Linked DNA regions of Homo sapiens: region 2 is linked to region 1. The links are contacts of gene promoters, found by promoter capture Hi-C in blood cells and fetal thymus (Javierre and others, 2016). All regions are on one chromosome and are shown on one strand. Each heading gives the region's core, a stretch centred on a gene start or on the middle of the fragment in contact. The rest is flanking DNA. Distances are from core to core; before and after follow the strand shown. Region 1 holds the start of OR52E4 (olfactory receptor family 52 subfamily E member 4). Region 2 has its middle 4.4 kb from the start of OR52A5.

What was found. Contacts are between HindIII fragments. The CHiCAGO score rates a contact against its expected background, and 5 or more counts as called.
Region 2: a contact is called between a fragment that was not itself captured here and the fragment with the promoter of OR52E4 in region 1, in 1 of 17 cell types (monocytes). The highest score is 5.4, in monocytes.

Annotation. Positions count from the first base shown.
Region 1 is chr11:5,877,932-5,882,488 of GRCh38, forward strand. It overlaps OR52E4 (olfactory receptor family 52 subfamily E member 4), which reads left to right and starts at 2,698. Exons shown (of 2, transcript NM_001005165.2): 1 at 2,698-2,783. It overlaps LOC112268071 (a long non-coding RNA gene), which reads right to left. Exons shown (of 3, transcript XR_002957231.2): 3 at 3,164-3,498. The HindIII fragment of the contact is 16,575 bases long and covers 1-4,557 here.
Region 2 is chr11:5,140,429-5,144,985 of GRCh38, forward strand. No RefSeq gene overlaps it. Among named protein-coding and RNA genes, the nearest start is that of OR52A5, 4.4 kb to the left of the region's middle. The HindIII fragment of the contact is 3,076 bases long and covers 568-3,643 here.

The DNA.
Region 1 (4,557 bases), core at 1,448-3,947:
GACATTAAACTCAGCTCAGGAAGCTGCACGGAGACTATGCTACACCCATCTGGAAACAGAGTCACCACACTCTTCCCAACTGGCACACTAAAACCCAACTGCAGGTGATAGTTGTCCTGTATAAAAACCACTCTGGAAAGTTTGGAGATAAGCAGATACACAGGCATCAATATAGAGACACAAGAAACATGAAAAGGCAAAGACATATGATACCACCAAAGGAACATAACACTGTAGTAACAGACTCCAGTAAAAAGAAAATCAACAAATTGCCAAAGAAAAAAAATCAAAATAATGATGCTGAGAAGACTCAATAAAATACAAGAATATACAGCATAGACAATTCAATAAAATCAGGAAAACAATTCATGAAACAAATGAGAAATTCAACAGAAGATAAAAATCATAAAAATCAAATAGAAATCCTGTAGCTGAAGAATTCAATGAATAAGTTTTCAAGTTACAATAGAGAGATTCAATAGCAGACTTGGTCAAGCAGAAGAATCTGTTGACAGGTTGTTTGAAATAAGTCAAAGAAAAACAAAAGAAGGATTTAAAAAAGTAAAGAAATAATGGTGTTCCTTAATGGGATGCCATTAAGTAAACAAATATTTGTATTATGAGAATTCTAGAAGGAGAAGAGAAAGAAAAGGACAAAGGAAACCTATTTAATAAAATAACAGCTGAAAACTTTCCAAATATGAAGAGAGATGTAGATATCCAGATCCGAAAGCTCAAAATCCCCTATGTAAATTCAACTCAAGAAGGTCCTCCCCGAGGCATTATAATGTCAAACTGTCAAAAGTCCAAGACAAAAAGTCTCTAGGCCTTTAGGCTATTTGGCATGAGGAAACAGTGAAAATAGTGGGAAAATATATCCAATCCTTCAACACTTTTCAGAAGTAATGTCCTCAGGGAACAGCTGGGTTTCTGTTTCAAAAGGAAGAGAAACAGAACATCAGAAGTGGTTTAAGGCCAAAAATAATATCACTGCTCATAAAAAATTGATTCTAGAAGTCACAGTGAAATAGTCTTGGGAATAGGAGAGGGGTAGGTACAGTGACCAATTAGGAGATATATGATTATATGATATGACCCTAACAGAACTAGAATTTTTATGTTTTAAAAATAATGTAATTCAATGCCAGAACACCTCCTACAATCAAAGCACTATACTAAGTGAACTGAAGGATAAAGTTGACTTAAACATCACTCTAATATCAATCCATAAAATAATGGAAGACAGAAAACACAAAACCAACACAAAATAAAATTTGCCTGTTATAATAGTGGCACACACTGATGTGAAAATACAAAAGACACAAAGATTATATCAGATTGATTCATATGAAAGGTCATTAAGAAGTATAGGACAATTGAGAAAGTGCTGAAGCAAAGTAGAAATGAGATGAAGTTATTTCATATGGAGGACTTTTGATTATCAAAGACAAGATGTGTGTTCGGGAGTCATGTAGTATAATGAAAGTATAAAAAGTTGATTGGGTATTGAGTGAAGGACTTTGGCAACAATGGTGTTTGCCCCTTATTACATAAAGTCTACAGTATACAATGGAGAATGTAGGGGTCATGGGAAGGAATTTTAAGCAGAAATTGGATAGAGTCAGACTTGATTTGGGAAGATAAATGTGGATACAGTAAGGAAGATGGACACAATGAGGGAGAAACAGGAACCTCAGGAGTTACTTTCTCATTAATCAAAAGAGAAGTAATGAACACAAGAACGTGGCAGATCAAACCAGAATCTCTCTTGGACCACAGACGACATTGCTGTTTCTGTGCTAACAACTCAAAATAGTCTGAACTTAGGAGGCAAAAAATACCAACTAATTGTCTAATGTACTTATTTTTCCCTCAGTCTATTTCTAACTATAGTCAGGAAAACCAGGCTCTGCAGCATGTCCTGGTAGTACTATCGGGTCTACTATGTCATCATTCAGGAAGGGAGCCTCTCAGGAAACACTACCTCTGCTCTGGCTGGAAGGGACAATATAATATGTTTTATAAGGAAAACGTAGAATTTTCTTCACTTTCTGCCAAAAGAGCTGAAACACATGAAAGCCTCTCTTCAAAGACTATCTGTTCACCATTAGTTATAGACTGAGAAGGAGAATCTTGGTGGGTTGGAAGAAAGTTGCTGCTATTATCTGCAGGCATGCACACTGCCAATAAACAGAGTTGTACCACAGAGTCTAATTTGTCTATTTGAGATGTCTTCTCCTTCATCTTTTGAAGCCTCAATTGTAACAGCTGTGAAACTACATCAGGATTTACACAAACATATTAAAACAGAAAAGTTGCTGAGAACAGTTTCATGGTCACACTGTGAAGAGTTAATGGTCCAAAATCAATGCTTTCATGGCTCCTGAGGGAAGCGGAATTAACATCATTCCCCAAACAGATTCCTCTCTCTTCAGGATAGCTCCCTTCCCATCCTTTCATAACACATCTGCTCCCCTGAGCTAAGGAGTTATATCTAGCATGGTGTTTCTCTGCAGATGCAGTGAAGAGGAATAAAGACTTACTATGACTTAATGACCCTCGAGTCCATGTTTCTGCCCAGAGGATTCCGAAGACTAGGCTCGGGGATTCTGGGACATGCCTGGTCATAGGGATGCTCTCACTCACTATAAAGTTGCCTCCACTTTACCAAGCAGGCTTGTTGCTCAGAGGCTTCAAGGGGAACCTAATCACGGTCTTTAAGAACCTGGACTCATGCTCCAATTCTGCTCCAAGTGAGGGCTGGGAGAAGAAATATTACAGAGGTAAGAATGCTTGTGCAGGAGAAGTGAAAAGATACACAGGAGAGAAGAAGAGGGCAAATGAGGATAGAGAGGCCAGATTCTTCCACTTTTCTGAGGAATTATCCTAAGCACCATTGCACCATTTTCTTCACAGAGGAACACAACAGAGCACATGGGATTGGTGAGGGCAGTGGTGTACCAATTAGTAATGCACAGAATTTCTGTCTGTGTATCTCTCTCTCTCCCCCCTTTCTCTCTGCCCCTCTCTCTTACACACACATACACTCATACACACACATTCTCACAGAGTACACTGTTCACAGCCGAAACACCACAAATACAGTCATATAGTAGCATGGCCATACTTGTTGTCAATAAGACAAAAGGATGTTATTGCAGACTTCTTTTGTATGTGTTTATTTAAGGTGGTGGGTGGGTATCACATGTCAATATTCAAATACAATTACATAGGCATTAACATATTTGGTCTGTAAAGTTTTATTCTCTGTTTCCCTCATTGTCTGAGTGAATTTAATGTTGCCAGTTGTAACTTGGTTCCCTATATCCCTACTACTTTATGGAACCATCCCCAAGCCATTTTTATTGTAAGCACAATACCCCTGCTAGATCAGCCGGACTGAACCGCCAATGGCACAGTTATGGAAGAGCCTGAATGAAGGTATTTATCCACTTTATCCATTCATCAACTGCTTTGGTCTCACCAAGATTGGGAAAGCTGTAAGAATAAGAGGAGAAAATTGTTTCTTTTCTAAATGAGCAGTATTGGGTCATATTTGTATCCATAAAAATCTAGACATAAATATTAATGTCTGACTCTGTGCCATTTCTTCACTTTGGCCTCTTCTGAGCCATTCCTCCTTTATCTAATCTTAGGCCAAACTGTGACATAATTTGGACTTTTTACAATGAAATAACTTCTTTCTGCTAACAGGTGAATTATTTTAGCTATCTTGCATTTAAATAAACAAAATATTTGGGAGCATTAATAAAATAAGTAAGTATAATTTGTTGAGGATACACTATGCACTAGCACCTATACAAACATTGGTCTTATTTATCATTAAAATAAACCACATTAGTTATAATTTATCATCTCATTTTTACAGGAGAAAAAAAAACTGATCTATCTGGTTAAAGAATCTGTCCAAGGGTCTCAAGCAAGTAAATGGTTTAGCAGGTTTTCCAGCCATGTCTGAAAAGTTTTAAGGTCCACAGAAGACTTCTGTAATATTCTACTACAGTCAGCAAAAAAATAAAAATCCAACAAAGTAAAAAAAATCACAAGTTCAAAATGTGAACTTTGGTGAGCACAATAAGAGAAAAATTGCTAATTGTTATGAATTTGTCTTTTCAGATGGACTCCAGTAGGGATCTTTGTCAATGTGCATATCTAGAGAAGAACAAACTTAATAATTTGCCCTCAAAAAATGATCTTGAGGTTATTGGCCATACACTGTCTGCTACTGTGGCATATAGTTATAACAGAAAGAAGGCAAGAATTCAGGTAAAACTGTGAGAGGGTGGATGTGCTGGCAGCTTTGAATTTTACTGTCAGAGAAGCGTCCTCTTTGCCATCTCCCTGGGAATGTTTTTCTCAGCTGGCAAAGTATCATGTTGAGACACAGCCACCCTTAAGATTGGGCTGACTCTGGACTGTAAATCTCACAACACATCATCCTAGCTATTTCCTCAGACTCTCCCAGGTGAAATCACAAAAACCACTGCCCTCTGATTTTTCAGCCTGGCATCTTTTCCTCAATACTGGCAAACATTA
Region 2 (4,557 bases), core at 856-3,355, 740 kb before region 1:
TAGAGTAACTAACAAATATAGACCTACTGAATGGCTCCAAAGATACTTTTGGAAACATGCAAAAAAATATGTGAACCTCAAGGAATCACAATGCTATAGAATACTAGAGAAAAAAATATTACTAGATACTATTTAGTTAAAACCCATTGGAACAATGGGGAAAACATCTGTTTTAGACGCAATGTGACTCACTACTTTGGTGACTGATATGGATCCTTAGTACTCATGCTAATAAATAAAAACAATGGTTTGCATAAGCATTTTAATGGAAATGTATACCCCTGAAAAATGTAATAGGAAATAAAACGCGTTTTTTAAAATAGACTCCTATCTGCACGTTTTTCAGAGAAAAGCAGAAACAAGGCATTTGAGTTAAAATACAACAGAAACAAAATTTGAATAGCTTTTACTATGGATGGTTGATAAAATTCATCTAGTGAAAATAAATGTTTTAATGAAATACGAAAATTTAAAATACAAAGGCCTGACCATATGTATATGACATGTAGAATTTTACAAATTAAGATGGATGTCTTTACCACGCAAAAAAAGAAGGGATCATGGAAAAGCTTATATTGGCCAGAGAATTACCTACTAAGTTCAAAAGTAGAGTCATCTATATGATGGACTATTAATCACAAAGATAAATGAAGTTCTGACTTATGCTAAAACATCAATGAACCTTGAAAAGATTACGCTAAGAAGCCAGACATAAAAGGCAACATGTGGTATAAACCCACTTATATGAAGTATCCAGAATACACAAATCCATAGGGACAGAAAGTAGATGAGTGATTACCAGAATCTGGAAGCAGGAAGAAATGGGGAGTGACTGCCAGTGGGTATGGAATTTCATTATTGGTGTGATTAAAATGTTCTGAGGCTGGGTGTGATGGCTCATGCCTGTAATCTCAATGCTTTGGGAGGCTGAGGTGGGCAGATAACCTGGGGTCATTAGTTCGAGAGCAGCCTAGCCAACATAGTGAAACCCTGTCTATACATAAAACAAACAAACAAAAATTGTAAAAATTAGTTGGGCATGGTGGCACATGCCTGTAGTCCCAGCTACTTGGGATGCCGAGGCAGGAAAATCACTTGAACCTGGAGGTTGCAGTGAGCCAAGATCATGCCACTGCACTCCAGCCTGGGTGACAGAGCGAGACTCCATCTCAATAAGGAAAAAAAAAAGTTCTGAAATTACAGGGTGGTAATAGTTGCATTATTTTCTGACTATACTAAATCCACTGACTTGTACACCTTTAGCAGGTTAATTATTTGGAATGTGAATTATATCACAATTAAAAATAATAATTGGCTTAGCATGGTATACACAGACTATACAAAAAAACCACTAGATATATGTTTTCAAACATTAGGATATGATAAATAAATATGGTGATGTAATTTGATAACCAAGAAGGAAGCATAGCTCAAATGTAAATGCAAAACCTTTATTCTGGGTAGAAAGGATATATGGAAATCTTTTGTACTTTCTACTCAGTTTTTCTGTAAACCTAAATTTTATCCAAAAACCAAAGTATATTAATGAAAAAACAATAAAATAATAGAAAAATCTTTTTTGTTGTTGGCAGAGTCTCACCCTGTTGTCCAGGCTGGAGTGCAATGGTGCAATCTCAGCTAACTGCAACCTCCACCTCCCAGGTTCAAACTATTCTCCTGCCTCAGCTCCCCTTATAACATGTATACAAAGATTCACATGTACCCATTATCACAAATTGTTCATATTTTGCCCCATTGTACTTTATCACTAGTTCAGTAGGTAGGCAAAAGGAGTATTTTTTTTTTCTGAATGGTTTACAAATAAATTGAAGACATGGTTACCCTTTATATCTAAATTTTAAAGTTTGTATTTCCTAAGGAAAAGACATTACATTGTATAACTATGGTATTATAACCAAGATGAGGACAGTTAGCATTGAAATAAAATTATAACCTAATATAAAGTCCATGTTTAAAGCTAGACAATAGTCTCAACAATGACATCTATAGCTATATTTTCTTTTTTCAGAATTCAATCCAGGAATACCTAGTGCAGTTAATTTTCGTGTCTCTTTAGACTTCTTGAATTTTCAAAACCTCCTCAGCTTTTCTTTCATATCTTGGATCTGTGAATAAACCCTGAATAACTACCACTCCAGTTTTGATACAAGCTAATTCCAAGGATCTAAAACTACTAAGGGATTTAGGAGTCTAGATTTACACTCCCTCCTAGAGTTAATCCACACTATCTACAATATCAGAAATCTCATCCCTTTATATCATCTTTAAAGTTACCATTTGATCTCTGCCTGAAACCTTCCCATGACAGAAAACTCTCTCCCTCTCTTTTTTGTTTTTTTTCTGAGATAGTGTGCCACATCGCAGGACAGCTTCCAGAGTCAACGAGGTCTTCTTTCTATAGAGCCCCAAACTGCCTCCCTCTTAATTTTTTTCTTTCGCTTTCTTGATAGTGGAATTTTTGAGGAACATCCATTTACTATTTAGAATTTCCATCATTTTAAGTTTCTTTGGTGTTTCCTCATGACTAGGATTCAGGCTATGCTGTTTTGCTTGTTTGTTTTTAATATCGCAGAATAATATAGCCTTTCTCTGTTCACCATATCATTAATCACATGATGCTGATATGTTCTAATATTAATGTGGTTAGTTTCAGTCACTTGGTTAATGGGATGTCACTCTGGATTCTTGGTAAGTTGCTATTTTTCTCTTTGTATTTCATAGAAATCTGTGAAAAAATATATTTATTGAGACGATTTAAATAGTCCACTCCTCTGAACACTTTCACTCATGAGTTTTTTTATTCTGTTTATGAATTTTTAAATCCATCATACCTTTCCTATTTATTTATTGGCATTACACTGTAAAGAAGAACATTCCCTTTTCCCAAATTTGTATTGCTTTACTTATGTTTGTATAGATTCACAGAATCTGATTTTATTCAATGGGCTATAATCCTTTGCCATAATTATTTATTTTGATGCTCAAAATTTTCTAAATTTTGCCATAAGGAGCTCCTTCCAACCAGATCTTGGGTCCTTTCCACATGTTCCAATCATGCTTTGAGTACTTCCTTACTTTCTATCTCTGCATCATCATTTCAAATTACTTTATGCTTTTTCAGCTCAAGCCACAGAAACAGATATTTTTCCGAAAAGCCCTGGTCTCTTTCTGTGAACAAAGTTATTAAGAAAATCAGTATCTTGAAACAAGGATTGTTTATTCATTGCCATTGTTTGTTCATTGCTTTTGGTTCCTATAAGTGAACAGAGGAAATACATGCACACACACACACACAATTATATAATTACATTTGCATATGTTTGTATCTCTCTTTATTAAAAACAATGAATCCATACTTGCAATTGCAATTGGAATCCAAACCTTCAAGATTCTTTCTAGTCTCAATACTTTACTTACAAGTAATTATTTTCTTCACAAGTATAAAAATTATCCTCCATTATCCTCAACAGTTTTTCTCATTTCTTCAAGCCTAGAATACCCAGTAAATAACTCCCATATGGCTAGCCAATATTACTATGAAAAGCAAATGTAATAGCTGTTTGGTGTTTGTTTATACTACTCTTTTGTTACTAAGAAAAGACAGTAAAATAAATTGATCTTAAGCTTATTTTTTGCAAATACGTTACTCATTATCCTATCAAGATATAAAATATTTCCTGCACTCCAGAAAGTTTTCCCAACATGACCATTCCTACTTTTTCAGGGGAAAGCATTGTTGTTTAAAAAAAAAAATTACTTTCAATTAATTTTACCTGTCCTAGTGAGAGGTGACAGCGTGCTGGCGGTCCTCACAGCCCTGGCTTGCTCTCGGCGCCTCCTCTGCCTGGGCTCCCACTTTGGCCCCACTTGAGGAGCCCTTCAGCCCGCCACTGCACTGTGGGAGCCCCTTTCTGGGCTGGCCAAGGCCGGAGCCAGCTCCCTCAGCTTACAGGGAGGTGTGGAGGGAGAGGCGTGGGCGGGAACCAGGGCTGCGCCCAGCGCTTGCTGACCAGCGCGAGTTCCGGGTGGGCGTGGGCTCGGCGGACCCCGCACTCGGAGCAGCCGGCCGGCCCCACCGGCCCTGGGCAGTGAGGGGCTTAGCACCTGGGCAGTGAGGGGCTTAGCACCTGGGCCAGCAGCTGCTGTGCTCAATTTCTCGCCGGGCCTTAGCTGCCTTCCCGCGGGGCAGGGCTCGGGACCTGCAGCCCGCCATGCCTGAGCCTCCCCCACCACCCCTTGGGCTCCTGTGCGGCCGGAGCCTCCCCGACGAGCGCCGCCCCCTGCTCCAGGGCGCCCAGTCCCATCGACCACCCAAGGGCTGAGGAGTGCGGGCGCAGGGCGTGGGACTGGCAGGCAGCTCCACCTGCAGCCCCGGTGTGGGATCCACTGGGTGAAGCCAGCTGGGCTCCTGAGTCTGGTGGGGACGTGGAGAACCTTTATGTCTAGCTCAGGGATTGTAAATACACCAATCGGCACTCTGTATCTAGCTCAAGATTTGTAAACACACCAATCAGCACCCTGTGTCTAGCTCAGGGT